7 separate regions of the Homo sapiens genome follow, and all the other regions are linked to region 3. Evidence: promoter capture Hi-C in 16 types of primary human blood cells and fetal thymus (Javierre and others, 2016). All regions are on one chromosome and are shown on one strand. Each heading gives the region's core, a stretch centred on a gene start or on the middle of the fragment in contact. The rest is flanking DNA. Distances are from core to core; before and after follow the strand shown. Region 1 holds the start of KLK5 (kallikrein related peptidase 5). Region 2 overlaps KLK10 (kallikrein related peptidase 10). Region 3 holds the start of GPR32 (G protein-coupled receptor 32). Region 4 overlaps LRRC4B (leucine rich repeat containing 4B). Region 5 has its middle 17 kb from the start of LRRC4B. Region 6 holds the start of PPIAP59 (peptidylprolyl isomerase A pseudogene 59). Region 7 overlaps LRRC4B (leucine rich repeat containing 4B).

Region 1 (3,567 bases), core at 1,047-3,546, 180 kb after region 3:
ATTAGCCAGGCGTGGTGGCGCGCACCTGTAATCCCAGCTACTCAGGAGGTGGAGGCACGAGAATCACTTGAACCTGGGAGGCAGAGGTTGCAGTGAGCCGAGATCACGCCACTGCACTCCAGCCTGGGAGAGAGAGCAAGACTGTCTCCAAAAAAAAAAAAAAAAAAGCTCTGACTTTGAAGGGGGTTCTAGAAGGTACCCACAGAATAGGGGGTGGAGCCTGGCCCAAAGGGGTGTGGCCTTAGGCGGGGTCCACTAGAGTCTGGCCTAGGGGCGTGGTTGAGGAAAGGAGGTGGGGTCAGAGCTCATGGGCGGAGCTAGGGTTCCGAAAGCAGGACCAGGAAAGAAGGGCTCAGCTTAGGGGGCCACATGGAGGGGAAGAGCAGGCCTAGGTTTCTGAATTCTCAGATGAAAACATGCCTTCTCAATCCTGTCAATCTCCTCCTCTCACACACAGACCTACAGACTACATGCATGCCCCACTCCATCATCAGTCCTCCCGTGCCCATTCACTGGTTCTTACCCTTTTTTTTTTCTTTTTTTCTTTCGAGACGGAGTTTCGCTCTTGTTGCCCAGGCTGGAGTGCAATGGCGCGATCTCGGCTCACCGCAACCTCCACCTCCCGGGTTCAAGCGATTTTTCTGCCCCAGTCTCCCGAGTAGCTGGGATTACAGGCACGCGCCACCACACCAGCTAATTTTTTGTATTTTTAGTAGAGACGGGGTTCTCCATGTTGGTCAGGCTGGCCTCGATCTCCCGACCTCAGGTGATCCGCCTGCCTCGGCCTCCCAAAGGGCTGGGATTACAGGCGTGAGCCACCGCGCCCGGCCTGGTTCTTACCCTTGCTGATGGCCCTGGCACCACCATCATTCACGAACTCACCCCAAGAACCACGCGCACAACAGCAGTAACAGCCAAGCACGCACGCAGTTCTGCAGACACGCCCATGTTGCCTCCACAGGTGCAGCTAACATACAGCTCTGTCTCCAGGTACACACGCTCCCGGGCAGCCTAGCGGGATCGCACACCCTCATCCACAGTGTCTCAGTGCCACGCACAGATGCCGTGTGTGCACAGATGTTCAGACTGCCACATACTCTTCTGCACACAGGCACACACTGCAAGTCAGTCACCTGGCACCCATCTCCCAGAGATAGCTACCCCTGCACCCTCTATCCCTCCAGGCAGAGACAGAAACTCCAGACACACAGCTGCACCATCACACATACAGTAGCATTTACACGGCCTCACACAGACACACACAGTCACATACAGTCACCCCTACACAGAGCTTCAGGTAGTCACACGGTCACAAATACGGGCATCCATAACGTCACACTCAGCCACAATCACATAATCGCCTGCAAGCAGCACACAGTCACAGCTTTCCATGGTGATGACCACTTTTGTTGCACGCAATCCCGGGACCTCAGGGACAGGAACTGCAGATACCTGCAGTCATATACAATGCCAAGTCACCACACACAGCCAAACACACAGTGAACACCCCCAGTGCTACATGCATTCACCCACACAGCTGTGGAGCCACACACAATCTTAAATGCACACACAATCACAAAACCACACACACAGCCTCAAAGGGTCAGTGCCACCTGCCGCACAGTCACCTGATATGGGAAAAGGCATCCCCCTCCCCGACACACACCGTGGCAGTCACAGGGCCACATACGATCGCACAACCACAAGTACAGACAGAGACTCACATTCACCCGGTCCCGGAGTCATGCCCAGGCTCACACAGTTCCCCAGGGGACAGGCGCTCTAGTGCCGCAGAGACAGTCCTCCCAATCCCACAACCCTCCCACCCCAGAGTTCTGGTTACCTGTGACCCCCAGAAGCAAGGCTGTGATCAGAGCACAGAGCACCCACATCCAGGGGGGTCTTGCTGTAGCCATGGCCGCTGCACCTGGATGGGGAATGTCAGAGGGTTGGGAGGCCCAGGCGATCCGGGGAGCCCTTAACCCACTTCCCCTCCCTCCCCTACCTTATTTCCCCAGGTAGAGAGGAACCACAAGGACGGGCCACCATCGGCACTGCGCTGAGACCCAGGCACTATAGAATTCAGAAGATAGGAGTCTAGCAGCCTCCAGACAGGGCAAGGAGGGGACAGAGAAAGATGTGGGTGCAGGACGCACAGACACCTCTCCTTCCCTGCCTGCTGAGCCACCCTCACCAGGTCTCACTTGCCCTGTCCCCCAGGTAGGGGGTGGGGGATTTGCTCCCAGCTCAGCCGCAGACTTCTCAGGCCTGTGCCTTCCTGGCCACTGCCTCCTCCTGGGCTCTGGGCACCGGGCCTGAGTTATAACCACCCACTGCTCCCTGGGGCACATTCCCGGGCAATGAGGTGCCTATCGGGCCTTAGCAATAGCTCCTCCTGCTCCCCCTATCTCCACCCCCAGAGCACCCCCCACCCAGTCCGGAATGTCACTCCCTACCTCCCTGGCCCGGAGAATGGGGAGGGGTCTCCGGAAGCCAGGCCAGCCCCTTCCCTGCCTCCCCCAGCCTTAAGGATCTGGCTTCTCACCAACTCTGGGTCACTATTCTTGGCGCCTGGATTGCTTGCTTTCTTCTCTGCATTTTGCTCATTCCACCACTGTCTGTTCACCCTCGATACTCCTCTTTCCATCTTTGTCTCTGGTTTTTTCTCAGAGTCTTCTTCCATCTCTCTGTGGTTCTCCCTCGGCTATCTTTCTGAGTCTCTCTCAATATCTCGTGTCTCTCTCCACCCCTCTCTCTCTTTCTATCCCTCTCGCCTCTCTGTCTCTCTGTCTCTGTCTCTCTCTCTCTGTCTTTTTCTCTGTCTGTCTCTCACTCACTCTCTCTCTCTCTCCTCCTGTCTGTCTTAGGAGCCTTGTTTTGTTCTCCTTGGGCCACAGGTGTTTCTGTCTCCCTGTTCCTCCCTGTCTTTCTATGCCTCTGTGATTCTTTCTTTTTTAAAGGTTCTGAATGATTTGTCAAATATACCTTAGAGTTCTTGGCCCATTTATTTTCCTTTATTTCACTTCTGCTCTATTTGTTGACAGCATTTTTTTTTTAGATATAACTAAGGTACAACAAACTGCTTGTTCGTTTGTTTATTTATTTATTTGAGACAGAGTCTTGCTCTGTCGCCCAGGCTGGAGGGCGGTGATGTGATCTCGGCCCACTGCAACCTCCGCCTCCAGGGTTCAAGTGACTCTCGTGCCTCAGCCTCCAGCATAGCTGGGATTACAGGTGTGCCCCACGACACCCGGCTGATTTTTTTTTTTTTTTTTTTTTTTTTAGTAAAGACAGAGTTTCACCATGTTGGCCAGGCTGGTCTCAAACTCCTGGCCTCAAGTGATTCACCCACCTCTGCCTCCCAAAGTGCTGGAATTACAGGCATGAGCCACGGTGCCTGGCCCAAACTGCATATTTAAAGGGTAGAGTCTGATGGCTTTAGGTACTTGTCACATCAGCATAGTCAAGAAGATGATCATGGCCGGGCGCGGTGGCTCACGCCTGTAATCCCAGCACTTTGGGAGGCCGAGGCGGGCGGATCACGAGGTCAGGAGATCGAGGCCATCC
Region 2 (3,749 bases), core at 107-2,606, 250 kb after region 3:
GTCAGAGACTCTCCCTGTTCAGACCCTACCTGGCAAGGGTCCTGGCCCCGGTCCAGTCCAGCACATATCATGTTGTTGGTGACCACGCCAGGGTAGAAGACCTCACACTCTTTAGGGCTCAGGATAGTGATGCTGGAGCAGGTCAGGCCCTTGTTGTACTTCACTGAAGGGAGAATATGCCAGTAATCCCTGGGTCCAGCCCCCAATCCTTGGGGAGCCAGGAGTCCAGATACAAGACCGTTTCTATCCTAAGCCCCAGCCCCTCCTCCTTCAGACTCAAGAATCCTGGCCCCAGCCCCTCCCCACTTAGACCCAGGAGTCCAGGCCCCCAGCCCCTCCTCCCCTCAGACTCACAGACCCAGGCATCTAGGACCCCAGCCCGTCCTCCCTCAGATCCAGGAATCCAGTCCCCAGCCCATCCTTCCTCAGACCCAGGGGTTCAGGCCCTCAGCCCCCTCCTCCTGAGGTTCCGGCCTCAGAGCCCCAGCTCTTGCCTCTCCGGGCGGCCGTGGTGCCCCAGCCAGCAACCTGGCACTGGTCTCCGGGCTGAGCACAGCGGTAGGGAAGCTGCAGGGCCCGGACGCGGGGCCCCAGCACTACGGGCCTGGCCAGCTTCAGCAACATGAGATCGTGCTCATCCGTTCGCCTTGGCAGGATGGGGCCTGAGCCCTGGTGGTACTTGGGATGGACAACAGAGCGAGTGGTCCGGCGGAGCTGCTCTCCCTGAAGAAGCAGCAGGTGGTCATCCCCTACTCGAGCCCACAGTGGCCTGGGGGAAGGAAGAGGCATGTGAAGGCAAACCCTTCATAGGGACTGGGAAAGCAGGTGGGCAGTGACGCAGGGCCTGGAGATAGGAAGAGTCTGAGGGAAGAGGGCCTTGTGGGAGAAGGGGACCTCAGTGGACATGGGGAGGAGGAATCAGTTGTTTGAGCTCTGAGGATCTGTAGGAATTGAGGAGGGCTGGGGGCCTGGACACCTAGGTAAGCCTTCCACATTTTCTTTTCTCTTTTTCTTTTCTTTGTTGAAACAGAGTTTCGCTCTTGTCACCCAGGCTAGAATGCAATGGCGCAATCTCGGCTCACTGCAACCTCCACCTCCCAGGTTCAAGCAGTTCTCCTGCCTCAGCCTCCTTCCTGAGTAGCTGGGATTACAGGCACCCACCACCACACCCAGCCTTTTTTTTTTTTTAATTTTTTTAAAATTTTTTATTTTTTATTTTATTTTATTTTTAGTTGAGAAGTGGTTTCACCATGTTGGCCAGGCTGGTCTTGAACTCCTGACCTCAGGTGATCCACCCGCCTTGGCCTCCCAAAGTGCTGGGATTACAGGCGTGAGCCACCGAGCCCAGCCCAACTCCACATTTTCTCTGTGGTAATACCCAACCCTTCCTCCTTCAACGGGGACTCACGAAGTGAACCTTTTCCTTTAGTTCTAAATTCCTGACCACACCGGACCCTGGCTTCTATCCGTTGCAGGCAACCACCTCCTCCTAGAGCTCAAGGAGAATCAGCGGGAGAGGAGTGACGGGCCCAGAAATGCGGAAAAGGACCACACCGCCCCCTGGCGGCCACAGCGCAAGCCCGGTCTCTCCTCCTGCTGGAAGGACACCGGGGACCGCACCTCCAGCTGTGGGAGTTCCGAGAGACCCCGCCCTGCCCGCTCCTCCCTGGAGGCCGCCTCCACAGCCCCCCGTGGCGTCCTCGGGGATGGATCTCCTCCTACTTGTTTCCGCAGTGCGCGGCCGTCAGCACCCAACTCTGGTCCACCAGGACACCCGCGCAGTGGAACGAGAGGCCGTTGAAGAGCGAGACCTGCCAGGGCTGCGAGCCGCGCGCGCACGGGGAGCCATAGGCTTCGGGGTCCAAGCGCGTGTCGTTTTGGGGGAGCAGCGCCGCCTCTGCGGCTGGAGAAAGAAAGGGGACGGAATCAAAGCACGGAGGGCAGGGTCTGGGTTTGGGGTTGGAGCTGGGCTGTGGCACTGGACTGCGTTCGGGGACGGGGGACGCAGCCAGAACGCGAGGGTGGTAGGGAAATATTGGGGGTTTCGCGTGCACCGAAGGGAATGGGAGGAGAAGAAGCGCGTGAAAGTGGAAGGAAGCTGGGATAGGGTAGCGTGGAGTAATGAGACAGAATAGGGTGGGTCTGGAGGGCAGGGACTGAACGCAGCGCGCCTGGAGAGCTGGCTAGAACGTCGCTGGTCGATAGAGGGGCGGGGATTGAACGCGGCGGGGAGGTAAGGGTGCGGGGATAGAACTCGGGGATCGGGGAGAGGAAGGGGTGTGAATAACAAAACGGGATTGAAAACCAGGAGAGGGGTGGGGCGCAGTGGTTTACGCCTGTAATCCCAGCACTTTGGGAAGCCGAGGCGGTTGGACCGCTTGAGCTCGGGAATTCAAGACCAGCCCGGGCAACACAGCAAGACCCAGTCTCTACAAAAACAAACAAACAACAACAACAACAACAAAAAAGTAGTCGCGGAGGCATGCGCCTGTAGTCACAGCTACCTGGGAGGCTGAGGTGGGAGGATCGCTTGAGCCCAGGAGGTGGAGGTTGCAATGAGCCGAGATTGGGCCACTGCACTCCAGTCTGGGCGACAGAGTGAGACCCTGTCTCAAAAAAAAAAAAAAAAAAAAAAAAAGCCGGATGTGGTGGTGCATGCCTGTGGTACCAGCTACTCTGGAGGCTGAGTATCGCTTGAGCCCAGGAGGTCGAGGCTGCAGTGAGCTCTGATTGGGCCACTGTACTCCAGCCACGGAGACAGAGCACTGCCCTGTCTCAAAAAAAAAAAAAAAAAAAAAAGAAGGAAAGAAAAAGAGAGAGAAAGAAAAAAACAAGAAAGAAAGAAGAAAAAATAAGAGAGAAAGTAAAACAAGAAAGAAGAAACAAACGAAAGGAAGGAAGGAAAGGAAGGAAGGAAAAGAAGAACGAAAGAAAGAAAAGAAAGAAAGAAAAAGAAAAAAGAGAGAGAAAGGGAAAGAGGAAGAAAAAAAGTGAGGGGAGAGGGCAAAAAGCGGTAAGGCAAGACTCAGGATAAAACACGGTGGTGTGGCCGGGAGCGGTGGCTCACGCTTGTAATCCCAGCACTTTGGGAGGCCGAGGCAGGCGGATCACGAGGCCAGGAGATCGAGACCACGGTGAAATCCCATCTCTACTAAAAATACAAAAAACTAGCCGGGCTTGGTGGCGGGCGCCTGTAGTCCCAGCTACTCGGGAGGCTGAGGCAGGAGAATGGTGTGAACCCGGGAGGCGGAGCTTGCAGTGAGCCGAGATCGCGTCACTGCACTCCAGCCTGGGCGACAGAGCGAGACTCCGTCTCAAACAAACAAACAAACAAAACAAAACACGGTAGTGTAAAATGGAGCGGGGCCGGGATGGGGCGGCGTAAGAGGAGGAGAAAGAACGCGGCGAAGAGTCCACGGAAGAGCGAGGATCCGGGTGGCAGAAATCGGACAGGGCCTGAGTGGGGCGGGTCACCCAGGGGCCGAGCCAGAAGAAGGGCCCAGCTGACTTGGGGGCGGGCCGTGCTCCGGAGCGCTGGGTGGGTGCTGGGGTCTCGGGGGAGGAGAGGTGCGCGGGGCTTGGTGACGGGAACACATTCTCCTCCCGCCCGTGCCTCCCACCGGCGCCTCTCCCCGCCCCCTGCCCCCGACCTTACCCCAGAGTTGCGCCATCAGCAGCGGCAGCAGCTTCGCCAGAGCCCGGGCGCCAGAGGCGGCGGAGAGGTGGAGGTGCGGAGCTCTCATGGCCAG
Region 3 (3,520 bases), core at 435-2,934:
CTGAAGTGAAATGGCGTGACCATGGCTCATTGCAGCCTCGAATTCCAGGGCTCAAGTGACCCTCGTGTCTCAGTCTCCCAATTTGCTGGGACTACAGGCACGTGCCACCATACCTGACTAATTTTTTTTTTTTTTTTTTTTGAGACAGAGTCTTGCTCTGTTGCCTGGGCTGGAATGAAGTGGCACGATCTTGGCTCACTGCAGCCCCTGCCTCCCAGGTTCAAGGGACTCTCCTGCCTCAGCCTTCAGAGTAGCTGGGATTACAGGCACGCACCACCAAGCCTGGCTAATTTTTGTATTTTTAGTAGAGACAGGCTTTTGCCATGTTGGCCAGGCTGGTCTCGAACTCCTGAACTTAAGTGATCCACCAGCCTCAGCCTCCCAAAGTGCTGGGATTACAGGAATGAGCCACTACGCCCATCTCACGGCTAATTTTTAAATTTTATTTTATTTTTATTTTTTTGAGACGGAGTTTCGCTCTCGTTACCCAGGCTGGAGTGCAGTGGCGCGATCTTGATTCACTGCAACCTCCGCCTCCCAAGTTTAAGTGATTCTTCAGCCTCATGAGTAGCTGGGATTACAGGTGGCTGCCACCACACCCAGCTAATGTTTTTTGTATTTTTAGTAGAGACGGGGTTTCGCCATGCTGGGCAGGCTGATCTCGAACTCCTGACCTCAGGTGATCCGCCTACCTCAGCCTCCCAAAGTGCTGGGATTACAGGCGTGAGCCACTGTGCATGGCCACAAAAACTTGTAATTATTTATTTTTTGTAGAGACGGTCTCACTATGTTGCCCACCTTGGTTTGGAACTCCTGGCTTCAAGCAATCCTTCTGCCTCAGCCTCCCAAAGTGTTGTGATTACAAGCATGAGCCACCACACCTGGCCCCTCCATTTCATTTATTATTTTTCCATAACACTTGTAGTCTTCTAAAGCAGTATATCATGAAGTAAATTTATTATATGTATTACACCTGACATCTCTCACTGGGATGTAAGTTCCATGAGGGCTTGTTTTGTTACACGAGTTATGTCCAGTACTTAGAACAATATTATAGTGTCCAGTGAGCCGAGATCGTGCCATTGCACTGCAGCCTGGGTGACATAAGGAGACTCTGTCTCAAAAAAAAAAAAAAAAAAAGAACAATATTATTGTGTCATAAAAAGCATTCAGGCTGGGCTCAATGGCTCACACTTGTAATCCCAGCACTTTGGGAGGCTGAGGTGGGAGGATCACTTGAAGCCAGGAGTTCAAGACCAGCCTGGGCAACACAGCAAAACCCCATCTCTACAAAAAAGAATTTAAGGCCTGGCAGAGTGGCTCACACCTATAATCCCAGCACTTTGGGAGGCTGGTGGACGGGTCACGAGGTCAGTAGTTCAAGACCAGCCTGGCCAACATGGTAAAACCCTGTCTCTACTAAAAACAGAAAAATTAGCCAGGTGTGGTGGCATGTGCCTGTAGTTCCAGCTACTTGGGAGGCTGAGGCAGGAAAATTGCTTGAACCTTGGAGGTGGAGGTTGCAGTGAGCCGAGATCATACCATTGCACTACAGCCTGGGTGACAGAGAGAGCAAGACTCTGTGTCAAAAAAAAAAAAAAAAAAAAAAGGTAAAAAAATTAGCCAGGCATGGTGGTAAGTGCCTGTAGTCCCAGCTACTCCAGGAGGCTGAGGGGGGAGGATCTCTTGAGCCTAGGAGGTGGAGGCTGCAGTGATCTGTGATTGTACCTTTGCACTCCAGCCTGGGTGACAGAGCATGACGCTGTCTCTAAAAGAATAATAATAATAAGCATTCCATAAAAATTATGGAATGGAGAAATCATGAATGGGGTCTCGGAGGGGACCAGAGGCTGCAGTGACAGGCAACCTGGGGTCCTGACACGTGATCGCTCTTGTTCCAGGAAGATGAACTCTTCCGGATGCCTGTCTGAGGAGGTGGGGTCCCTCCGCCCACTGACTGTGGTTATCCTGTCTGCGTCCATTGTCGTCGGAGTGCTGGGCAATGGGCTGGTGCTGTGGATGACTGTCTTCCGTATGGCACGCACGGTCTCCACCGTCTGCTTCTTCCACCTGGCCCTTGCCGATTTCATGCTCTCACTGTCTCTGCCCATTGCCATGTACTATATTGTCTCCAGGCAGTGGCTCCTCGGAGAGTGGGCCTGCAAACTCTACATCACCTTTGTGTTCCTCAGCTACTTTGCCAGTAACTGCCTCCTTGTCTTCATCTCTGTGGACCGTTGCATCTCTGTCCTCTACCCCGTCTGGGCCCTGAACCACCGCACTGTGCAGCGGGCGAGCTGGCTGGCCTTTGGGGTGTGGCTCCTGGCCGCCGCCTTGTGCTCTGCGCACCTGAAATTCCGGACAACCAGAAAATGGAATGGCTGTACGCACTGCTACTTGGCGTTCAACTCTGACAATGAGACTGCCCAGATTTGGATTGAAGGGGTCGTGGAGGGACACATTATAGGGACCATTGGCCACTTCCTGCTGGGCTTCCTGGGGCCCTTAGCAATCATAGGCACCTGCGCCCACCTCATCCGGGCCAAGCTCTTGCGGGAGGGCTGGGTCCATGCCAACCGGCCCAAGAGGCTGCTGCTGGTGCTGGTGAGCGCTTTCTTTATCTTCTGGTCCCCGTTTAACGTGGTGCTGTTGGTCCATCTGTGGCGACGGGTGATGCTCAAGGAAATCTACCACCCCCGGATGCTGCTCATCCTCCAGGCTAGCTTTGCCTTGGGCTGTGTCAACAGCAGCCTCAACCCCTTCCTCTACGTCTTCGTTGGCAGAGATTTCCAAGAAAAGTTTTTCCAGTCTTTGACTTCTGCCCTGGCGAGGGCGTTTGGAGAGGAGGAGTTTCTGTCATCCTGTCCCCGTGGCAACGCCCCCCGGGAATGATGGAAGACTTCAGCTGGAAGCTGGAAGCCGTCCTTCTTAGTTTGCTTGTGGCCTCTTACCTTGACTGGCTTCTAAAACCCTGCCAAATCCTGCCTCTTCTTTCAGGAAGTCTTCCAGCAACCCCTCATCTAAAGCTCTGTGGTAGAGACAGCTACTTACTCCCCAGTGTCCATTCTTCCCCGCCCCCCCCCCCTTTTTTTTTTGAGATAGAGTCTTGCTCTGTCACCAGGCTGGACTGCAGTGGCGCGATCTCGGCTCACTGCAACCTCTGACTTTCTGGTTCAAGCAATTCTGCCTCAGCCTCCCGAGTAGCTGGGATTACAGGCACGTGCCACCACGCCCAGATAATTTTTGTATATTTTTTAGTAGAGACGGGGTTTAACCACGTTGGCCAGGATGGTCTCAATCTCCTGACCTTGTGATCCGCCTGCCTCGGCCTCCCAAAGGGCTAGGATTACAGGCGTGAGCCACTGCACCTGGCCCATTCTTTCCCTCTCTTTTTCTTTTTTTTAAAAATTTTTTAAAGACAGGGTCTGATTTTGTCACCCAGGCTGGAGCGCAGTGGCAAAATCTCGGCTCACTGCAGCCTTGACCTTCAGGGCTCAAGCCATTCTCCTGCCTCAGGACT
Region 4 (3,634 bases), core at 391-2,890, 230 kb before region 3:
TAAACAACAAGGGGATGAGATCTATATCAGAGGCATGTGCAAGACCAAGCAAGGCAGCAGGACTTTGCCTAAGGCACCTGCGGGTGGGGTGGGAGAGTGGGGTTAAGCTGAGGCACAGGCCATGGGCCTACACCGCTTCCTGGGCAGCCTTCCCTGGCCTCCCCTCACTATGTTCAGCTCAGCAGCCCCCCGCCAGCTCGTGCACGCTGCTACTGGACTTGTTTACCTTCCTTTTTTTTTTTTTTATGATGGAGTCTCGCTCTGTCGCCCAGGCTGGAGTGCAATAGCATGATCTCAGCTCACTGCAACCTTCGCCTCCCAGGTTCAAGCGATTCTCCTGCCTCACCCTCCCGAGTATCTGGGATTACAGTAACACATCACCACACCTGGCTAATTTTTGTATTTTTAGTAGAGATGGGGTTTCACTACGTTGGTCAGGCTGGTCTCAAGCTCCTGACCTCAAGTGAGCACCCGCCTCAGCCTCCCGAAGTGCTAGGATTACAGGCGTGAGCCACTGTGCCCGGATGAGACTTGCCGACTTTCTGAACGACCTCTTTCTGCACGCAGTGTCGAGAGGGCAGGGATCTCTGTATGTCCTGCTCTCTGGGCCTCGGGTGGTGCCTGGCACACACTAGGTGCTCAATAAACAAATCAGGGCTGCACTGAATGCTGCAGATGGATTAGCCGGGGCTGTTCAGACACAGGAGGGACAGCCCATGCAGGGAGAAAGATGCACGGGTCTCAGCTCAGCTCCTAGACTCGCCACGGGGTGGTGACGAGACCACGGCATCCTTGTGAGGATTAAACTGTCTCGATATCTGTAAGCCATGGAGAAGAGCGCCTGGCACAGGGCAAGCACATCTGTCTGTGACTATTTAAAGGCAGGGCAAGTTTCTGGAAGGGTGGGAAGGAAGGGGCTGGGGTAGCTTCTGGTGCCCAGTAGAGGGTGCCCCTGAGCTTGGTGTAGCTGGGAGCGCCAGGCATACTCATCCTGATCTGAGATGGGGACAGGGTGGCTTGCAGAAAGGTGTCCCCTAGGAGGAGTTGGTGTGGCGACTCCAGCTGGGTGTGGTGGCAGGGGTGTGTGGGTACAGGCTACATCTGGGAGGCTAGGAAGAAGCTGGGGCTTCCAGATGAGCAAGGACAAGGCCAGAGCCAGGCTGGGCTGTGGGGATGTAGACTGGGACTCAGTGGCAGTTCTGAGACTGAGTCACCAGGGTGCAGCGCCAGGGATAGCTACGAATTAGGAAGCATTACGAATCGCGTTGAAAAAACCAAGTTCTGCAGCCAGCCTGCCTGGGCCGAGTCCCAGCTCCGTTACTAACCATGGGACCAGGACCGTTTGCAAGTGTCTTAACTCTCCTATGCCTCAGTTTCCTCATCTGTAACATGAGAAGAATAGGACCTACTCAGGGGGCTGTCGTGAGGCTGAAATTCACTGACCCTGTAAAGGGCTTGGAGCAATGCTGGGGGCCCGACTGACATTCTCCCGCCCACCCTCGCTGAGCTGTAGAAATAATTGGTCTATTTTCTAGACGAGAAGGCAGGCTCAGAGAGGTGACTCAACGCCTTAGCGTCATTCGTGGAGGGGAGAACGCGGGTCTTGTGCCTCTCAGGACTCGCAGGCTGCTCAACAGAGATGTGGGACTGATACTCCCACCCAGCAGCCTGTCCCGAGGCTCAGGGGCCATGTGGCTTTGCAGGACGCCAAGCAATTCTACGCCTTTGTCAATTTAACTTTAACAGGTGTGAGCCACCGCGCCCGGCCGACTGTTCTTTTCTGTAAGTGTGCTGTGAGTCATCATGAGAAAAAGTTAAGAAGAAACTGACAAAGTATGGGAAATCCTATTTGAAAAGGGTAGAAACTGAGGCTCGGAGTGGTGACAAGGATTATGTGGGCCCCGAGATGGCGCTGCTGAGGGAATGAAGAGGATAACTCAGCTGGAATGAGAGCCAGGGAGGCCGCAGTTAGACACGAAGTCTCAGCAGCCCGGGAACGGACGGCAGAGGGCGCACTGCTCCCTCCTATCCAGAGGACCTCCTGGCTGCTGGTCGCAGGCCCGCGGCTGGGGAATGTCCCAGTTGACCTCAAGAGAGGTCAGCTCCTAGATTCCCCTCTACAGATCCTCCCTTCCGCCATTTTCTTTCTTTCTTTCTTTTTTGCCTTTTTTGAGATGGAGTCTCTCTCTGTTGCCCAGGCTGGAGTGCAGTGGCACAATCTCAGCTCACTGCAACCTACCTCTGCCTCCGGGTTCAAGTGATTCTCCTGCCTCAGCCTCCTGAGTAGCTAGTACTACAGGCACGCACTACCACTCCCAGATAATTTTTGTATTTTTGGTAGAGACGGGGTTTCGCCATGTTGGCCAGGCTAGTTTCCAATTCCTGACCTCAGGTGATCCAACCGCCTCGGCCTCCCGAAGTGGTGGGATTACAGGCGCGAGCCACCGCGCCCGGCCCTCCCACCGTTTTCTTCCTTAAAGGGCTCTAACTGGGAAAAGTCTGTCCAATCAAAAGCTCCATGTTTCATGCCCCTGGAGGGATCAGCCGCCTGGAAAATGCGAACTAGTGGGTAATTTAAAAGCTATTCTTGGTATTTGCCTTGATAATGCACTATGGCCGGGGTTTTTATTTGGTTAGTTTGGGTTTTGTCTTGTTTTTTTTTTTTTTTTTTTTTTTTTTTGAGACAGAGTCTTGCTCTGCCACCTAGGCTGGAGTCCAGTGGCAAAATCACAGCTCACTGCAGCCTCTGCCTCCTGGCCTCATGCAATCTTCCCACCTCAGCCTCCCAGGGATCTGGGACTACAGGTGCGTGCCACCACACCTGGCTAATTTTTGTATTTTTAGTAGAGATGGGGTCTTGCTATGTTGCCCAGGCTGGTTTCAAACTCCTGAGCTCAAGCGATCCACCTGCCTTGGCCTCCCAAAGTGCTGGGATTACAGGTGTGAGCCACCGTGCTGGGATTACAGGTGCGAGCCACCGCACGCCGCCTTTTTTTTTTCAAGACGGATTCTTGCTTTGTCGCCAGGCTGGAGTGCAGTGGCACGATCTCGGCTCACTACCACCTCTGCATCCTGGGTTCAAGCGATTCTCCTGCCTCAGCCTCCCAAGTAGCCAGGTGCCCGCCACCACACCCGGCTAATTTTTGTATTTTTAGTAGAGACAGGGTTTCACCATGTTGGCCAGGATGGTCTCGAACTCCTGACCTTGTGATCCACCTGCCTTGGCTTCCCAAAGTGCTGGGATTACAGGCGTGAGCCACCGTGCCCGGCCAGGTTTTGTTTTTTGTTTTTGCAACAGAATTACCATCCTGTAGCTGCCCCACTTTGGCTGTCTGGGCCTGGCTTCTCCACACTGACTCTCAGGGTGGGACAGACATATATACCTTCTGAGGCACATGGCAAGCCCATGGGGGCTACAGCTTGCTGGGCGACCTTGGATAAGTCACTCAGAGCCTGTGCCTCCATTTCCACGTCCATAAGATGGGAGAAGTCATCCTGCCCTCACAGGAATAAATGGGGTTAGATGAGCGCTCCCTGACCCCCTGCTCCAGATAAATGCTTTGAAATTTTTGTTTCTTTTTCCTCATTTAGGAAAAGGTGAGCAAATTCCAGTATAGCCTTTTTTTTTTCTTTC
Region 5 (3,846 bases), core at 596-3,095, 180 kb before region 3:
GGCTGCACTCTCTCTAGCATTTGGTAGAAGCTTAAAACATTTGTTGCTCATTTGATGGGCAGAGGAAGGAATCACTGAGCTGTTGTAATGCTATGCCTTTGGGCTTTATAAAAGGAACTAAATGAAACAGTTAATGTGAAAATTGCTTTAGCTTCTGCAGAAAACTTTTGTTAATGACCCAGCAATTCAACTCATAGGAACTTATATTCAGGAAGTCATCAGAGAGGTAGACAAAAATATACACACAGAGATGTATCTCATAGAATCATTTATTATAGCCAAATCTGAAAAAAACTTAAGTGTTAATGGAGTACATGTGATCTGGGGATGCTGCTTTACCTGTAGCCTGTTTTCATTTCACTCCTAAGTTATTTATTTATTTTATTTATTTTTATTTTTATTTTTTATTTTTAGAGACAGAGCCTCGCTCTGTTGCCCAGGCTGGAGTGCAGTGGCACAATCTCAGCTCATTGCAACCTTTGCCTCCCAGGTTCAAGCGATTCTCCTGCCTCAGCCTCCAGAGTAGCTGGGACTACAGGCCGGTACCACCATGCCCGGCTAATTTGTGTATTTTTAGTAGAGATGGGGTTTCACCACGTTGGCCAGACTCGTCTCAAACTCCTGACCTCAGATGATCTGCCTGACTCAGCCTCCCAAAGTGCTGGGATTACAGGCGTGAGCTTCTGTGCCCGGCCCTGCCATATTATTATTATTATTATTTTGAGACAGAGTCTTGCTCTGTCACCCAGGCTGGAGTGCAGTGGCACAATCTCAGCTCACTGCAATTTCCACCTCCTGAGTTCAAGAAATCCTCCCACCTCAGCCTCCTGAGTAGCTGGGACTACAGGCGCCTGCCACCACGCCCAGCTTATTTTTGTATTTTTTTGTAGAGATGGGGTTTTGTCATGTTTGCCCTGGCTGGTCTCAAACTCTTGGGCTCAAGCCCCCTGGGCTCAAGTGATCCAGCCGCCTTGGCCTCCCAAAGTGCTGGGATTATAGGCATAAGCCACCATTTCTGGCCACTCCTGCCTTATTGACTAATAATTTTATTATTATTATTATTGTTATTGAGACAGAGTCTCTGTCACCCAGGCTGGAGTGCAGCGGTGCAATCTTAGCTCACTCCAACCTCCACCTCCTTGGTTCAAGTGATTCTCTTGCCTTCGTCTCCCAAGTAGCTGGGATTACAGGTGCCCACCACCATACCCAGCTAATTTTTGTATTTATGGGGTTTCACCATGTTGCCCAGGCTGGTCTCGAACTCCTGGGCTCAAATGATCTGCCCTCCTCAGCCTCCCAAAATGCTGGGATTACAGGCGTGGGCAACCACACCCAGCCACTCCTGACTTATTGACTAATAATTTTATTATTTTTATTTTTTTGAGACAGAGTAACCTATAATTTTAGCACTTGGGAAGGCCAGGGTGGGAGGATAGCTTGAGCCCAGGAGTTTGAGACCAGCCTGGGAAACATAGGGAGACCCCCGTCTCTGCAAAGAATCAGAAAAATTAGCCAGGCGTGGTGATACGTGCCTGCTCAGGAGGCTGAGGTGGAGGATCTCTTATCGGTGACAGGCTCTTCCACCTGGTACTTTCCCTCTACTTCGTGCTGCGTTTTGGCTGACAATAGCCTTAAGGGAGAGGAAATCAATATATATTCCCCCCATAGGACTGGCAAAACCAAAGTTAACTGGTGTAGTAAGCATTGATGAGATGGGCTGGGCCAGTGGCTCACTCCTGTAATCCCAGCACTTTGGGAGGCCAACACAGGCGGATCACTTGAGGTCAGGAGTTCCAGACCAGCCTGGCCAACATGGTGAAATCCCGTCTCTACTAAAAATACAATAATTAGCTGGGCATAGTGGCAAGCGCCTGTAATCCCAGCTACTTGGGAGGCTGAGGCAGGACAACCGCTTGAATCCAGGAGGCGGAGGTTGTGGCGAGCTGAGATCGCACAGCTGCACTCCAGCCTGGGCAACAGAGAGAGGCTCAGCTTAAAAAAAAAAGCACTGATGAGGATGTGGGGGAACAGGTCCTCTGTCCCATTACCAGCAGAAAGAAAATCAGGCTGGGCTCAGTGGCTCATGCCTGTAATCCCAGAACTTTGGGAGGCTGAGGCGGGTGGATCACCTGAGGTCAGGAGTTGGAGACCAGCCTGGTCAACATGGTGAAACCCCGTCTCTACTAAAAATACCAAATTAGCTGGGTGTGATGGCGGGCACCTGTAATCCCAGCAACTCGGGAGGCTGAAGCATAAGGAGCAGCTGAACCCGGGAGGCGGAGGCTGCAGTGAGCCAAGATCGCGCCTTTGCACTCCAGCCTGGGTGACAGAGCGATACCCTGTCACAAACACACACACAAAAAGTGAAAATCAGTATGTCTACCAATGGTTCCACACCCTTGCCACGGCCTCATCGTGTATGTGGGGTGCTTCCTTGCCCTTTAACTCTGCACAGTTGACTTGACTTGACTTGCTTTGGCCAATGGCATGTGGGTGGATGCACCAGCGTCTGAGTCTAGGCTTTCAGAAGCCTTGCATCTGCCTCTAGTCCGCTTGTGCCCCAGCCGTCACCACGAGACGCTCTCCCTGGCAGCCTACCTTCTCTCAACCTGGGCCCCAGAATGAGATGCTTGGAGCGGACCTGAGCCAGCCAGACCTGCAGCTTCAAGCAGAGCAGCCCTAGAAAAGTCTGGCTAGGCCGGGTGCAGTGGCTCACGCCTGTAATCCCAGCACTTTGGGAGGCCAAGGCAGGTGAATCACTTGAGGTCAGGAGTTCAAAACCAGCCTGGCGAACATATAGTGAAACCCTGTCTCTACTAAAAATACAAAAATTAGCCAGGCGTGGTGGTGCATTCCTGTAGTCCCAGCTACTTGGGAAGCTGAGGCAGGAGAATCACTTGAACCCGGGAGGCGGAGGTTGCAGTGAGCCGAGGTTGTGCCATTGCACTCCAGCGTGGGCGACAGAGAGAGACTGTCTCAAAACAAAACAAAACAAAAAACAAATAAACAAAAAAGCAGAAAAGCCTGGCTAGATCAAGAACACATGAAGTTGCTGAGTTTTTGGTATTTGTTATGTAGAAATACTTGACAGTTCCAGGAATTGTTTATTAAAATTAAAATGAATACATTCATATAACTTGATAATTCTAACTCTCCTTATTAGACATGTCTCCAAGGAAACTCATGTAAAGATGTTCATAGCAACATTGTTTGTAAAAGCAAAGAAACCAAGAATAACCCAAATGTCCAGCAAGAGGAGAGCGGACAAAGAAACGCCGAGTTCTATGGAATACTACTGCAGCTTTTAAAAGGAAGAGGACAAGCTCTTTAAATAAATCTGGATAGATTTCCAAGACATATTGTTGAGTTAAAAAAGCAAGCTGCAGAACAATATGTACAGTAGGATCCCATTTATGTTAAAAGACACTCATATGCTTGCTCAAAACAATACTACTCATTTACTATACAATACTATGCATATACTCTATTACCACACACGCACACACATGCACACACATGCATGCACACACACACATGCAGCATGCACTCACTTTTAGACAAAGATCCAGAAGGATCAACCATAAACCAATAATCATGGTTACTTCCAGAGAAGAGATGTAGATGAGAGAGAGGTGACCAAAGGGAATTTTAGCTTTGCCTGTAAGCTTTTTTTAAGAAGCAAGGAAAGTCTATCTGTATATTATTTGTACAATTTAAAAGTAATTTTCCTTTTCTTTTTTTTTTTTTTTTTGAGATAGGGTCTTGCTCTGTCACCCAGACTGGAGTGCTGTGGCATGATCATGGCTCACTGCAGCTTCAAACTCCTGGGCTCAAGTGATCCTCCCA
Region 6 (3,895 bases), core at 63-2,562, 160 kb after region 3:
AAACCCTGTCTCTACTAAAAATGCAAAAGTTAGCTAGACATAGTGATGCGTGCCTGTAATCCCAGCTACTTGGGAGGCTGAGGCAGGAGAATCGCTTGAACCTACGAGGCGGAGGTTGCAGTGAGCTGAGATCGCGCCACTGGACTCCAGCCTGGGTGACAAAGTGAGACTCCATCTCAGAAAAAAAAAAAAAAAGAAGAAAATATTTTTACATGGTAAAAAAATATGTTTATAAAAAATACAGAGTGATAAACCTCCACCTAACTTTGTTCCCCAACCTGTCCTGTCTTCATCCCTCTTCAAAACACAAAAACTAGAATATGTTTTTTTGGATCATCTTCCAGGATTTTGTGGCACAGGGACAGATGCATACAAAGATGTGTTTTTATTTTTTTTTCTCTTGCCTTTAGCCACCAGGCTGGGTTTCGCACCAAGAAACGTGTCTCCCGGAGCTTAGACCACTTGGTGAATTCTCTTTCTTGTTATCAGAATTGAAGACCTGTAATGCCTGGTTAGTGTCAAGGTTTGTGAAACACTGTTTGGATAATTACACAAGTTATAAAACAATAGCTGGTGTGAAAATTACAGATGATTCATAATTACACATATGGCTGTCAAGCTTTCTGCTAGAGAGTCTTTCAGCCTGCGAGAACTCAGTGGGAGGAACTTTTTTTTTTTTCCTAAAGGGATCTCATTGCTCATTCTGCAATGATTAGAGCTGGCCAGAAAATAGACACTGGCAATACAGCAAATAAAGTCGAAGGGAAAATGCAATCAGAGAGATCTAGGAGGACGACAATATTTTTTACTGAGCACTTCCGATATGCCAGACACATTTTTATTATGACATTTTATTTTGAAACAGTTCAAAACTCACAAAAATTGCAAACTAGTGCAATAATGCCCATGTACCCTTCATCCAGATTCTCCCAATGGTAACATTTTTTATAAGGATAGTACACTGTCAAAACTAGGAAAACATCGTTGATACCATGCTGTTAACTCACATAGAGACCTTATTTGGATTTCATCATTTTTTACATCTCTCTCTCTGTCTCTCTCTCCACCCCATCCCCACCATCTGTTTGTCTCTGTTTCTCTCTGTCTCTCTTTTCATGTATCTAGTTCTTATAGCTCTATAGATAAAGGTAACCATCACCACAGTTGGGATACAGAACTACTTCATCACCATAAAGAAATTTTCAGGCTGGGCGTGGTGGCTCATGCCTGTAATCCCAGCACTTTGGGAGGCCGAGGTGGGCAGATCATCTGAGGTCAGGAGTTCGAGACCAGCCTGGCCAACATGGTGAAACCCCGTCTCTACTAAAAATACAAAAATTAGCCGGGCGTGGTGGCGCACACCTGTCATCCCAGCTACTCAGGAGGCTGAGGCAGGAGAATCGCTTGAACCCGGGAGGTGGAGTTTGCAGTGAGCCGAGATCATGCCACTGTACTCCAGCCTGGGCAACAGAGCAAGGCTCCATCTCAAAAAATAAAATAAAATAAAATAAAAAATAAAATAAAATAAGGGAAATATTTTTAAATTGCAATTTTAAAGATATTTTAAGTTCTGTGGACTATATGGTTTCTGTTATCAACCAGTCAACTCTGCTTCATCGAACAACTCATACTCAATACATACATGAATAAGCATGGCTGTGTTCCAATAAAACTTTATCTACAAAAGCAAAACAAAACAAAACAAAAGACCACCTTTGAGTTGGTCACAAACTTTGTGAAACATCATTGAGTCAGTTGCGTAAGTTATACAACAGTGACTAAGTGTGAGAACTAGTGATGACTCCCTTCATTGTTATCAGTGGAGATAGATGATGCAGACCTGGCTTATTTCTTAAGGTGCACTGTTTCAAAAAGCTACAAAAACTCAGGACAAGCTCCTAATTGTGAAGATGAACAATTTCACTCATCTTGGTCTACTGCCTTGCAGGGGTGTTTTGGTAGAGTGGTTTCTCGACAGTTTTTCTTGAAACCCAAATCCAAATCCAAAGCTTTGCTGAGTAATCCATTATCCTTGAAACAACCCCGTGAAGTTGTACTATTATTCTTGCATTTGTACTATTATTCTTGTATTTTGGCTCGGAAGACTGTGTGCCTAGCTGCTCTGCTATCCTGTCTCTGTCCAGCACACACATACACACACACGCACGCGCGCACGCACACAAATGTCAACATTGGTTTCCTCTGGTTGGTGAGATCATGGGGTGTTTTTTCATTTTTGTTTTTTGAGACAGAGTCTTGCTCCTTCGCTCAGGCTGGAGTGCAGTTTTGTGATCTCGGCTCACTGCAACCTTCACCTCCGGGGTTCAAGTGATTGTTCTGCCTCAGCCTCCCCAGTAGCTGGAATTACAGTCTCCCACCACCATACCTGGCTAATTTTTGCATTTTTGTTAGAGACAGGGTTTCACCATGTTGGCCAGGCTGGTCTCGAACTCCTGGCCTCAAGTGATCTGCCCACCTTGGCCTCCCAAAGTGCTGGGATTACAGGCGTGAGCCACTGCACCTGGCCCAGGCTGGGGTTTTTATTATCAGAAACTGCTAGACTTTTTCCCGAAGCGGTTGAACCATTTGACACTCCCTTCAACCAGGTATGAGAGTTCGAGGTGCCCCACGAAGTGTGCAACATCTTGGCGTTTTCATCTTATTTATTTTTATTGAATTTATTGTAGTTTTTTGTTATTTAGTTTTTATTTCATAATCATAAACTTAACTCTGCAATCCAGCTAGGCATGGAAGGGAACAAGGAAAACATGGAACCCAAAGGGAACTGCAGTGAGAGCACAAAGATTCTAGGATACTGCAAGCAAGTGGGGTGAAGGGGTTCTCTCCCAAGCTACAGAAGGAATGGTCTGGTCGTTAAGATAAAATACAAGTCAAACTTAGAGTTGTTCACAGTCAGCAATGGTGATCTCCTTGCTGGTCTTGCCATTCCTGGGCCCAAAGTACTCCATGGCCTCCACAATCTTCATGCCTTCTTTCACCGTGCCAAAGACCACGTGCTTGCCATCCAACCCCTCAGTCTTGGCAGTGCAGATGAAACACTGGGAACAATTTGTATTGGGTCCAGCATTTGCCATGGACAAGATGCCAGGCCCTGTATGCTTTAGGATGAAGTTCTCATCATCAAATTTCTCCCTGTAGAGGGACTTGCCACCGGTGTCTTTATGGCGTGTGAAGTCACCACCCTGACACATAAACCCTGGAATAATTCTGTGAAAGCAGGAACCCTTATAACCAAATCCTTTCTCTCCAGTGCTCAGAGCATGAACCTTTTCTGCTGACTTTGGAAACTTATCTGCAAACAGCTCGAAGGACACGTGGCCTAAGGGCTCTCCATCAACGGCGATGTCAAAGAACACGGTGGGGTTGACCGTGGCTGATAGTACAGGACTCGCAGCGGCAGTGTCTGCAAAGCCTATTTTAATTTTTTAAAACCGATCTGATGGGTGGGTGGTAGCGTCTAATTGTGGCTTGAATTGGATTTCCTCTCATGACGAAAGAAGTTGAGCATTGTTTCGTGTGCTTTATGGCCCTTTGTATGTCTGCTGTTGTCAAGTGGACCTGTGTACACCGAGAGCTGACCCACTCGTGTATCAGTTCTGTGGGGCTGCTGTAACGAACTAGCACAAACTGGGTGGCTTTAAACAAAAGAAATGTATTCTCTCAGAGCTCTGGAGACTGTAAGTCTGAAATCAAGGTCCCCATGGTGTCGGCAAGGCCACACGCCCTCAGGCTCTGCGTAGAGTCTTTCCTGGCTTCTGTTGACGGCTGCTGACCACTGGCCTTCCCTGGCTGGCAGCTGCAATACTCCAATCTCTGCCTCTCTCTTCACATGGCCCTCTCCCTTTGTGTCTGTCTTCATATTTTCTTCCCTGTT
Region 7 (3,891 bases), core at 1,219-3,718, 220 kb before region 3:
TGCCTCCCCAGTTCTCCAGGGCTTCCTGTCGAGATCGTGCTGGGGGGGGCGCAGGGGCTTCTTGGGTCTCCCCGCGCCCCCCCCACTGGCCTGTCGCCCTTCCCACCCCTGGGGGGGGCTGTCCTTTGGCCACTGCAGCAGTTCTCTGCTCCCCTCCCCGCTCGCCTCCTCCGGTCTCCTTCCACCCCCTCTCCCACCTCTACCTCGACTCTCCCCCGACCGCAGCCTCCTTTCTCTCCACCCACCGACCCCAGCCCCCTTAACTCTCTCTCTGCCCCTCTCGGTCCTCCCCCTCCGCCTCTGGTCCCCGTCCACCTCCTCTGGCCTCAACCCCCTCCTGAGTCTCCCCCCTCACAATCTTGCCTCCCTCGGGACCCCCAGGCCCCTTCTCTCCTTCTCCTCCATCTATTCCTCCCTCTTGCTCTATCCCTGTCACCCTCTCATCGGCCCTGAGCCCGTCTCAGTCAGGTTGTCTGTCTGTCCGTCTGTCTTGGTCCCTTTCTCCCCGGCTCTGTCTGTCTCTCTCTTTCTCCGCGATTACAATTTCTAGTCACACGGCAGTGCAGAGCCAAGCTGTGCCTCAGCTCCCTCCCTCCCCACCCCTCCCTCCTTCTTTCTCTCCTTCTGAACGGGGAGGGCGCCTCTCCTCCCTCCTCCTCAGCCTCCCTTCCCTGCGCCGCCTGGGGGAGGCCTCCCCCTCCCCCGCTAATCAAAGGCTCCGTTATCTAATTAACCCATTGGTTCTGGGCAGCCGAGGAGGCAGCCGAGGAAGGTCGGGGGAAGCGGGGGAGGAAGGTTGCCGGCTGGGCTGCCCAAGAAAGGGGGGTGGTTGGGCCGTGCCAAGCCGGAGCCTCATGGCACACAGACAGCCTCGTTGGCTGCATGACCGGGCTGGGCCACCACTGACCCCCTCGCCCCCACTTCCAGCCAAAACCCCCCAGCTTCACACCCCCCACTGGGTCTAGGCACACAATCTTGCCCAGCGTTTTCCTGCAGATGCCCCTGTACCCCAGGAACTCCTTTGAACCCCCACCATGCCACACAGCCTTTACTCCAACCCTGATATACCACACCTGATATACCGGCACTGGAACCTGCGCCCTGCACCGTCACCCCGTCCCGTGGCTGAGGGCCAGCCCCTCTCCATGCCACAAAGGCCCCCACCCCTAGAGGAACCCCTCTCCCTTGGACCTTAGCCAGATCCTGACATCCACCTCCTGACACACTTCTGCAAAATCTGCAGGGCAGCCACGTTCATTCATTCAACTTATCCGCCCATCCATCCGTCCATCCATCCGTCCACCCATCCGTCCATCCATCTGTCCATCCATCCATCCATCCATCCATCCATCCATCCATTCATCCATCCGCCCATCCGTCCATCCATCCATCCATCCATCCATCCATCCATCCATCCATCCGTCCATCCATCCGCCCATCCGTCCATCCGTCTATCCATCCGTCCTTCCATCCCTCCGCCCATCCATCCACCCATCCATCCATCCATCCATCCGTCCACCCATCCATCCTTCCATCCATCTGTCCAACAAATGTCTACCCAGTCCCTGCTATGTGCTAGACACTAGCCCAGGACACCCATGGGCCACAAAAGGCACCTCTCGAGAGTGGGGCACATTGGTGAGTGCCGAGAGGCCTGGGTTTGAGTCCTGACTCTGCTGCCACTTCCCGTGTAACCTCGGGCCGGTGGCTTATTCTCCCAAGCTGCAGTTCCCTCCACTGTGAAACAGGGATAATGGGAGTATCTGCCTCCTAGGGCCACTGTGGGGATTAAATCGCTAAATCCTTGGTAAAGAGTTCTGTCTTCACAACATATGCGGAATCAGACCCCAGAATCAGAGGATCTTTCTCCCCACGCCCAGGCTACTTCCCTGACCTGGCTCCCATCTCCCTCTTGAACGATTACAGTGTCCTCCCCTCCAGCCTCCCCATTTCTGCCTTCACCCCCACTCCCCGTGCGTTCCCCACGGGCAGCGAGGGGTATCCTGTCAACACCCCATGGACCCTGCCCCGCCTCTGCTCCACAGCCTTCCACAGCTCCCGTCCCACTCAGAGCAGAGATGAGGACTTCAGTTTTCAGGTCTCCACTCTCCACCCCAGCTCCTCCTCTGACCTCATCGCTTCCCTCCTCCCCCTGCTCACTCGCTGTTTCCAGAACAGGCCGTGCACACCCCGGCCCCAGGGCCTTTGCACCTGCTCTTCCCTTTTCCTGGAATGCTCTTTGCCGGTTGTCCACAGGGCTCTTGCCCTGCTCTCTATCAGGTCCGTGCTCCAATGCTACCTTCTCAGTGAGGCCGTCCTGACCGCCCCGCATCAAACAGCACCCCTATCCCTCTCCAGAACCTTCTCTGTTTCCTTTTTCTCCATGACATTTATCAGCATCTGAGCTTTTATATGGGTCCGTGCGCTTGAAGGCAAGTTTCCCGAGGGCAGTCAGTTTGTGACTATTTGGTTCCCAGGACCCACAACAGTGCTGGGCACATGGCAGTTGCTCACCAAACACTGGGTGCAGGGACGGATGGGTACGTTATCATCACTGTGAGTCTATTTCCCCCCACGCTCACACACAGATACCCCCACTCTCCGTTCTGCACACCGAGCCAGGCCGCACTGCAATAGCTGCACAATGCAGGCTCCCAGCCCTGGACACCCTCGGTCCCCAGGTCCCCTTCCATCCCAGGAGGCCTGCTGGCAGAGGCAGCACCTTTTTTTTTTTTTTTTTTTTGAGACAGAGTCTCACTCTGTTGCCCAGGCTGGAGTGCAGTGGCGCGATCTCAGCTCATGGCAACCTCTACCTCCTGGGTTCAAGCAATTCTCCTGCCCCAGCCTCCTGAGTAGCTGAGACTACAGGCGCTCACCACCACCCCGGCTAATTTTTGTATTTTAAGTTAGAATCGGGGGTTTCACCATGTGGGCCAGGCTGGTCTTGAACTCCTGACCTCCAGTGATCCACCTGCCTTGGCCTCCCAAAGTGCTGGGATGACAGGTGTGGGCCACCGTACCTGGCCGAGGAAGCACACATCTCACGTCAGCTGGACACCAATGTCCCGGGTCACCCTCCATGCCCTGGGTCACCCTCCGTGCCCCAGCACCACCCGGATGGCTAAGTCCCAGATACTACACCTCAGGTTCCAAACAGGAGGTCCCCAGCGCAGCTCCGTGCACCCAGAGGAAAGCTACCACTCTGCCCAAACCTCAGATACCACCTGCGTGAGCTACACTCCTGGATACAGCTGCATACTGAGAGGGCACCTGGCCCCAGTTGTCCCCAGATAGAGCCCTCTGACCTGGATAACAGGAATGCTGGCTAACCTCATCTCTTCCGCACACACATCTGACTTGCGTGAACTCACTGAATAATGACACCACCAAAGGTGGTAACGTCCAACACACATCTGGCACTGACTGGGCACCATTCTGGGAGCTTTACTTGCATTAGCCACCGCAGTTCACATCAACCCTCTGAGAGAAGACTGCTATTACACCCAGTTCCCAGCTAGCAAAGCTGAGACACACAGAGGTACTGTTAGTTGCCTAATGCGAAACACACGGCTAGGAAGTGGCCCCTCCTAGGTCAGCCTTGCCAGAGTCCAGGGGCCCCAAAGACCCCCAAGTGTGGCCTGACAGCAGCAACAATTCCCATGGAGGCTGCCTGTGTGTGGGGGGCAGGGTGCAGGCAAGGCCACAGGCATGCTGAACAGCCACCCTTCCTCAGCCCCTGCAGTCACCCGCACTGCACAGGATATCACACGCCCGACACCCCACCACGGCTTCACGCCCGGCTGGCAGAGGCTCCATGGACTGCCCTCTGCCCCCACGCACCCCTAGTAGTGATGGGAAATACTGATTACATGTGGGTGCCATGCTATCCAC

The links. The method cuts DNA at HindIII sites, captures the fragments that hold promoters and counts their contacts. A CHiCAGO score of 5 or more calls a contact.
Region 1: the fragment with the promoter of KLK5 here is called in contact with the fragment with the promoter of GPR32 in region 3 in 5 of 17 cell types (M0 macrophages, M2 macrophages, erythroblasts and 2 more); the score reaches 10.2 in M0 macrophages.
Region 2: a contact is called between a fragment that was not itself captured here and the fragment with the promoter of GPR32 in region 3, in 1 of 17 cell types (M2 macrophages). The highest score is 5.1, in M2 macrophages.
Region 4: a contact is called between a fragment that was not itself captured here and the fragment with the promoter of GPR32 in region 3, in 16 of 17 cell types (M2 macrophages, M0 macrophages, endothelial precursors and 13 more). The highest score is 47.0, in M2 macrophages.
Region 5: a contact is called between a fragment that was not itself captured here and the fragment with the promoter of GPR32 in region 3, in 3 of 17 cell types (M2 macrophages, M1 macrophages and M0 macrophages). The highest score is 7.2, in M2 macrophages.
Region 6: a contact is called between a fragment that was not itself captured here and the fragment with the promoter of GPR32 in region 3, in 3 of 17 cell types (M0 macrophages, M2 macrophages and M1 macrophages). The highest score is 16.4, in M0 macrophages.
Region 7: a contact is called between a fragment that was not itself captured here and the fragment with the promoter of GPR32 in region 3, in 6 of 17 cell types (M2 macrophages, M1 macrophages, M0 macrophages and 3 more). The highest score is 7.6, in M2 macrophages.

The regions. Positions count from the first base shown.
Region 1 is chr19:50,950,742-50,954,308 of GRCh38, forward strand. It overlaps KLK5 (kallikrein related peptidase 5), which reads right to left and starts at 2,297. Exons shown (of 6, transcript NM_012427.5): 1 at 2,006-2,297; 2 at 1,844-1,927. The coding sequence starts at 1,916. The region is part of intron 1 of LOC105372442 (a long non-coding RNA gene); the gene reads left to right. The HindIII fragment of the contact is 21,591 bases long and covers 1-3,567 here.
Region 2 is chr19:51,015,388-51,019,136 of GRCh38, forward strand. KLK10 (kallikrein related peptidase 10) reads right to left here. Exons shown (of 6, transcript NM_145888.3): 2 at 3,656-3,749; 3 at 1,723-1,903; 4 at 495-769; 5 at 30-163. The coding sequence starts at 3,743. Among named protein-coding and RNA genes, the nearest start is that of KLK10, 2.4 kb to the right of the region's middle. The HindIII fragment of the contact is 6,023 bases long and covers 1-3,749 here.
Region 3 is chr19:50,768,780-50,772,299 of GRCh38, forward strand. It overlaps GPR32 (G protein-coupled receptor 32), which reads left to right and starts at 1,685. Exons shown (of 1, transcript NM_001506.2): 1 at 1,685-2,953. The coding sequence starts at 1,822. The coding sequence ends at 2,892. The HindIII fragment of the contact is 17,473 bases long and covers 1-3,520 here.
Region 4 is chr19:50,535,907-50,539,540 of GRCh38, forward strand. All of the region lies in intron 2 of LRRC4B (leucine rich repeat containing 4B), which reads right to left. Among named protein-coding and RNA genes, the nearest start is that of ASPDH, 24 kb to the left of the region's middle. The HindIII fragment of the contact is 4,058 bases long and covers 1-3,634 here.
Region 5 is chr19:50,583,894-50,587,739 of GRCh38, forward strand. No RefSeq gene overlaps it. Among named protein-coding and RNA genes, the nearest start is that of LRRC4B, 17 kb to the left of the region's middle. The HindIII fragment of the contact is 3,635 bases long and covers 29-3,663 here.
Region 6 is chr19:50,924,181-50,928,075 of GRCh38, forward strand. It overlaps PPIAP59 (peptidylprolyl isomerase A pseudogene 59), which reads right to left and starts at 3,437. Exons shown (of 1, transcript XM_047439804.1): 1 at 2,687-3,437. The coding sequence starts at 3,437. The coding sequence ends at 2,898. The HindIII fragment of the contact is 1,390 bases long and covers 618-2,007 here.
Region 7 is chr19:50,551,269-50,555,159 of GRCh38, forward strand. The region is part of intron 1 of LRRC4B (leucine rich repeat containing 4B); the gene reads right to left. Among named protein-coding and RNA genes, the nearest start is that of LRRC4B, 15 kb to the right of the region's middle. RefSeq lists an enhancer at 494-1,405. The HindIII fragment of the contact is 9,365 bases long and covers 1-3,891 here.